Regions from separate parts of the Homo sapiens genome. Here region 2 is linked to region 1. Evidence: promoter capture Hi-C in human tissues and cell types (Jung and others, 2019). All regions are on one chromosome and are shown on one strand. Each heading gives the region's core, a stretch centred on a gene start or on the middle of the fragment in contact. The rest is flanking DNA. Distances are from core to core; before and after follow the strand shown.

Evidence for each region. Contacts are between HindIII fragments. The study calls those that stand out against the background at their distance.
Region 2: a contact is called between a fragment that was not itself captured here and the fragment with the promoter of C18orf63 in region 1, in 1 of the 25 tissues and cell types used here (thymus).

The regions. Positions count from the first base shown.
Region 1 is chr18:74,314,421-74,317,527 of GRCh38, forward strand. C18orf63 (chromosome 18 open reading frame 63) reads left to right here and starts at 1,419. Exons shown (of 14, transcript NM_001174123.2): 1 at 1,419-1,689. RefSeq lists an enhancer at 1,627-1,796. The HindIII fragment of the contact is 6,586 bases long and covers 1-3,107 here.
Region 2 is chr18:74,261,122-74,264,228 of GRCh38, forward strand. CYB5A (cytochrome b5 type A) reads right to left here. Exons shown (of 5, transcript NM_148923.4): 2 at 2,228-2,356. Among named protein-coding and RNA genes, the nearest start is that of CYB5A, 29 kb to the right of the region's middle. The HindIII fragment of the contact is 4,034 bases long and covers 1-3,107 here.

The sequences.
Region 1 (3,107 bases), core at 169-2,668:
TCATGGAGATCCAATCTGGCCTCAGGTTTTAAATAGCATCTATTATATGCAGATCTTTCCCCAGAACTCTTATTGTTCCTCTTCATTTCTCAATGTCAACAAGTCCAAAACTGACATGAACCCTCCTGATCTTCAGCCCCAAACTTGCTCCTCTTAGTCTTCCCCTTTGTAATTAATGGCAACCCAATCCTTCTGAATTCTTAGTATAAAAACCTTGGAGTGATGCTTGATTCCTCTCCCTCTCTCTCAGATCCCACATCAATCCATATCCAAATCCTATTAAATCTAATTTCAAAATATATCCAGAATCCAATCCCATCCCATCCCATTCCCTCCACTGCCACTGCTCTGATCCAAGCCACCTCTCTCCTTATTGCCATTGCCTCCTAACTGCTTTTCTTCCTTTCCCTGTCCCCTTCAGTCCATTCCAGCACAGCAGGCTGGATGCACCTTTAATACTTCCATGGCTTATCGGGCCTAACCCTGTCTGGCTCTCTGTAACTCCTCCTGCCTCACGGAGCCACTTCTTTCCTGCTCTACTGCAGCCAGCTGGCGTCCCTCCTGCCCTGGCCTTTTGTAGGATTCCCTCTCTCGTAACAAACATTCTCCCCCGAGACATGCACGAGGCTGCCCACTCTCACCGCCTTCATGTCTTTCTCAAACGTCCCGTTCTCCACGAGGCCTTCCTGACCACGCTATTAAACCTAACGACTTCTCCTCGGCACTCCCCGCCTCCCTACCCTACTTAATTTTTCTCCAATGCACCTATCACCATCTGCCACACTAAGATTTTGCACATTTATCTTGCGTATCTGTTTTCCCCCAACTACCAAGTAAAATGTGCATCCCACAAGGACCGGGAATGCTGTTTGCTTAGTGCTCTATCAGCAGACCTTAGAAACGCATCTGCACACAGTAGGCGCTTCGTGGATTTACTCCCACGAGCTTGCACCACGCTTCCCCTCCACACCAGGCATGAAGATGTTCCAGTCATGGAGATTCCCACCACTAAAGGAACTGCAGAAGCTGTAAATTCGGGCATGAGAATCTGAGGAGAAACGTGCCGAGGCAAGAGGCTGGGTAGCCCCTGTGCAGCACGCAGTTAGCCGGGGCTTCAGCGCCGGAGCTCCCCGTTGGACGTGTTGCGCTGACCCAGCTTTCCCGCCTTCGAGGGCGGCCAGAACCTTGTGTCCCGGCCCCACCCACACCAGCTCAGGCTGAGAGAATCTCACAGGGCTTCACTGGGTCATCCGTGACCAGCTTTGGTCGGTTCCTGCCTTGGCGGGAAAAGTTGACCTACATTGCGTGCCAGGAGCGCAAGGCTTGCAGGGCATGCTGGGAGAGCGCAGGGAACGCTGGGAGAGCGCGGGAAATACTGGGATTGGCTCCCGAGGGCTGTGAGGAGGGCACGAGGGGACACTCCGATGAAGGCAGGGCACGCGGGGCGAGCCGGGAGCGTCTCCTGAGGGCAGCGAGGAGGGAGCTGAGGCACGCGGGCTCTCAATCGACGCCCCACAGAGACCAAGAGGCCTGGCCTTGGGGGGCAGCTGCTTGAAGGAGGCAGAGCGGAAGCGAGGGAGACTGCTGGAGGCCCTGCCGCCCACCCGCCCTTTCCTCCCCCTGAGGAGACGCCTGACGCATCTGCAGTGCAGGAGGCCGTGGGCGTTAGAAGTGTTGCTTTTCCAGTTTGTAAGACCATTTTCCTGATTCTCTTCCCCACGGTTGCGGAGGAGCAGGTCAGGGCCGCCATGAGGGCAGGATCCCGGTGCCGGCGCCGGCACCCTGAGGACGTTGGTTTGGGTCAGGAAAAAAATGTATTCATCTGCAAAGACCCATGAGTCCCAATTTTTCGGGCATTTCATTATATCGGAAATTTATAGAATCACCTTTTAAAATGGATTTAGCTGAACAAAGACCTTAGATTCGTTTCCACTCACGTCCATTACTGTTCTCACAGAAGCCAGGCCGGAAGAGGGGTGGGCGCTCGCCTGGGGGCAGCGGCAAGCCGGGTCTGGGGCCGCCCTGAACCCCGCGCCCCGGGAGGATTTTTAGGAAGGGTCCCTCGTAGCGGCGGTCCCGAGGCTTAGCGCACAGCACTGCAGGAGCTGGGCGCTCCCAGAGTTTTGGTCCTTTGGGGTTCTCTGAGTCCTCCCTCACGTGTAGAATTGCGTAGGTGCCTGTTGCCTGCTCCTAGCACTTGTTCCTTGCCCTGCTGGGGATTGGGAATAAAGATGAAATCCTGGGACAGAAACGTAGTGGAGCGACTCCCTGGACAGGATGTTAATAGCGCATCCGTAGATCATAATAAGGCTTGGCCCACGTTTTGAGCTTCACAATATAGTTCTACAGCCTAGCCAAAGAAAACAACATTCTTTTTGAATCTGCAAGTTTTGCCAACTAGGAACTCACAAAATTAAACAATAGTAATAATTCTAATAAATTCATGCTTATCCCTGAACAGATCACTCTTGTTTACATACAGTGTTGCAATCCGTGAGTATTTGAAGATTGGCAAAACGGGAGGACTTGCACCCAGGAATTTTTTGGTGACCTGGAATTTACATTCCTACTGTATTACATTCCTGCTGGCATTGCCAGCATTCCTCAGATGACACCACAAACTCATTTCAGTACTGTGATCAGAAGGCTGGTCACACTGCACATTCCCGGGCCAGTATATTATTCTTTCTTAAAAAGAAAAAGCATGTTGATGTTGAAAAGTTGAAAGTACTAGAGTCCAGCTTACTTTTCCCTAATGTATTTGTGCATGTTAGTGTACTGAAGCTTCACTGGGTTGCTTTACTTTTATATTCCAGTTTTTGTTACTGTAGTAAAATGTAATGTAGACTTCAAAGGTATACCTTATGAATTATCAACTGTAAACTGTGCCTCCAATAGAATTTGAAAGCTGGATAATTTAGTGGAAACAAAAACTAGGTAACAATTTAGAGACCAGTAAACATTTTCTGTCGTGTACAATGAAAAATAATATATTCCTCAACCTTGAAGTGCTTTACAGAAAAATCTGAAACAACAAAAGACTTTGCTATACATTTTGACTTTTAAAAAATAGTTATTGTTATAGAAAAAGGAGTGATGAAAATATT
Region 2 (3,107 bases), core at 110-2,609, 53 kb before region 1:
AGATTAAGTGCCAAGAGATATTTTCTATCTAGAGTTCCAAAGTTTCGAACAGCACCCATGACAGCTCTCTGTACATGCTGATGTGCACACACATTTATTAGACTCAGATTGCGACACGTAATTCAGGGAGGAGCTGAAGACTGATTCTTCCCTTCTGTCCTCTCAAATTCCATTTGAGATTGTGCATGTATCTCTTACGTGTATGATATCTTCAGTTAAGCCCTGCAGTCTCCCAGTTTTAGAGTCATAAACTATTTCAACTTCAGGCTGAAGCTGTCAAAAATACAGTGTGTTTAAAGGCTGGCCAGGGGGAAGCCCAGTGGGCAGGTGAAGCAGAAGTGCCACAGTCAGGGCCTGAAACCTGACCCACAGCTGGAAACAAGGATGGGATCAGGCATGTGTAACGGCAGGCCTCCCTGATGACCCTAAGACACTTTGCCTTTGTGAAGTATGGGATGAAAATATCGGGGCAAATAAACTTGTCAGATGAATGAAGCTTACTCCCTCAAAGTACATATCTCCTACCACCAAAAACAAAATCAAACAAACCTCCCAACTCAATGAAGTTGTTCTCAAATGGATTTCCTACTTTCGAGCCTTCTACAAAGAACCTAATGTAACCTCTTCTTCATTCACAGTCATTACAGGGATCATCAGTGGTATACGATAAGACTTTTCCTATATTCTTTAAGAGTTTCTCAGTTTGCTCACTTAGAATGAGGCTATTTGCCTCTCCATTTTTTTCTTACGAGAGCAGAGCGGGCTCCTAGCAGGTCTTTGTCCCCTTCTGGCGGGCTGCTAACCATGCACCACAAGTGGGAAGGCAGGACGGAGCCAGGCACTCCCAGAGGTGGACAGGGCAGCTGAGTGTGCGGCCCCAGGATCCACTCCAGAAGCTCAGAGCGCTCGGCAACTTCTTTCCAAGTTTTCAGCGATTTTCCTGATAACTTAGGTTGACAGACTAGTAACATTTAACATGGTCATTTACAACTGCCACAGAGGGGTCTAAAACCGTAACACAGCACAGTGTTTATAGAAAAGCCAAATTAGGACTAGGTGCGGTGACTCACACCTGTAATCCTAGCACTCTGGGAGGCCTAGGTAGGTGGATTACCTGAGGTCAGGAGTACAAGGCCAACCTGGCCAACATGGCGAAACCCCATCTCTACTAAAAATACAAAACAATTGGCCAGGCATGGTGGCCTGTGCCTGTAATCCCAGATACTTGGGAGGCTAAGGCAGGAGAATTGCTTGAACCCAGGAGGTGGAGGTTGCAGTGGGCCGAGATCGCGCCACTGCACTCCAGCCTGGGCAACAGAGCAAGACTCTGTCTCAAAAAAAAAAAAAAAGAAAAGAAAAGCCAAATTAGGCCAGTGTTTTCCAAAAGTTGGTCAATGAATTGGTCCAGAGCTGATATTCTCGAAGGTCTGGGGTACAGTGAGTAGAATATGGACAATGTGCTAGTTCTACAGAAGGCAGAGCTTATTCATTTCACATAGCTCCGTTTTTATATTTTTTAAATCATTTTTTAGAACTAAAATATCCTTGGCCTAATGAAAGTAGAAGTGGGGTTCTTAATAAAAATATTTTGGTCAGAAAAGGAAAGAAAGCAATGCTGGGTTGATTCTCCCCACCTTGTAAAACGTGCTGCCCCATGGAATTTCTAGGACTGAGCAGACTCCCCAGTGCATGGCTGTGGGGTGGAGCCTGCTGACTAAAACGAAGTGCCAGTAAACAATGCAACCAGGCCAGGTGTGGGGGCTCACGCCTGTAATCCCAACACTTTGAGAGGCCGAGGTGGGTGGATCGCTTGAGTCCAGGAGTTTGAGACCAGCCTGGGCAACACGGTGAAACCCCGTCTCTACAAAAACTATGAAATTTATCAGGCGTGGAGGTGTGTGCCTGTAGTCCCAGCTACCAAGAGGCTGAGGCAGGAGGATGGCTTGAGCCCAGGAGGTTGAGGCTGCAGGGAGCCATGATCGTGCCACTGCACTCCAGCCTGGGTGACAGAGTAAGACCTGTCTCAAAAAAAAAAAAAAAAAAGCAACAGTGAAATGCAAAGACATTTTTGGTCAATTTATTTATAACAAAAAATGGTGTCCTAAAATCAGGAGTTGTTTTTGCTTTACTCCTTTTAAAATGTGTATACATGCAAGCTTACAGACTAGGGTAAGGTCATCTGATAGCCTTAAATACAAATAAGAAAGGGCCCCCAAAATGTACTTACTGGATGGAGCTCCCCAATGATGAATGTTTTGGACATTTCCCTGGCATCTGTAGAGTGCCCGACATCCTCAAAGTTCTCAGTAGCGTCACCTCCAGCTTGTTCCCTTAAAACTTCTTCCCCACCAGGATGCTGTTCAAAGGAGAGGTAGAATAAAAATTTTTTTTTCAGGCAAATGAATTAAGAGAAAACGGCCAGAATTTATTTAACCAAACAGGTGACTCCTTCAGAAGACACAGATGACAACAGGAGACTAACTTGTCCATAAATGTGGATTAAAACAACACAGGCCTTTATATTCCATTTCCATCATGCAAGTACAATAGGCCTAGGCAGCAGAATCACTTGGGCCCAAGTTCAAAGCCAACCTGGGCAACATTGTGAGACCCCATAACTATAAAATACAATTTTAAAAAATTAGCTGGGCACGGTGGCATGCCCCTGCAGTCCCAGATACATGAGAGGCTGAGGTGGGAGGATGGCACAAGCTCAAGGGGCTGAGGCTTCAGTGAGCAGTGACTGCACCACTGCACTCCAGCCTGGGTAACAGAGGGAGACCCTCAAAAAGATAAAAGTAAAAAAAAATTTAAAAACAACCTTTCCCGGCCGGGCACGGTAGCTCACGCCTGTAATCCTAGGCAGATCACTTGAGTTCAGGAGTTCGAGACCAACCTGGCCTACATGGCGAAACCCCATCTCTACAAAAAATACAAAAATTAGCCAGCCGTGGTGGCGGGCACCTGTAGTCCCAGCTATTCAGGAGGCTGAGTCTTGAGAATCGCTTGAATCCAGGAGGCCGAGGTTGCAGTGAGCTGAGATTGCGCCACTGCACTCCAGCCTAGGCAACAAAGTGAGACTCTGTCTCAAAAAAAAAAAAAAAAGA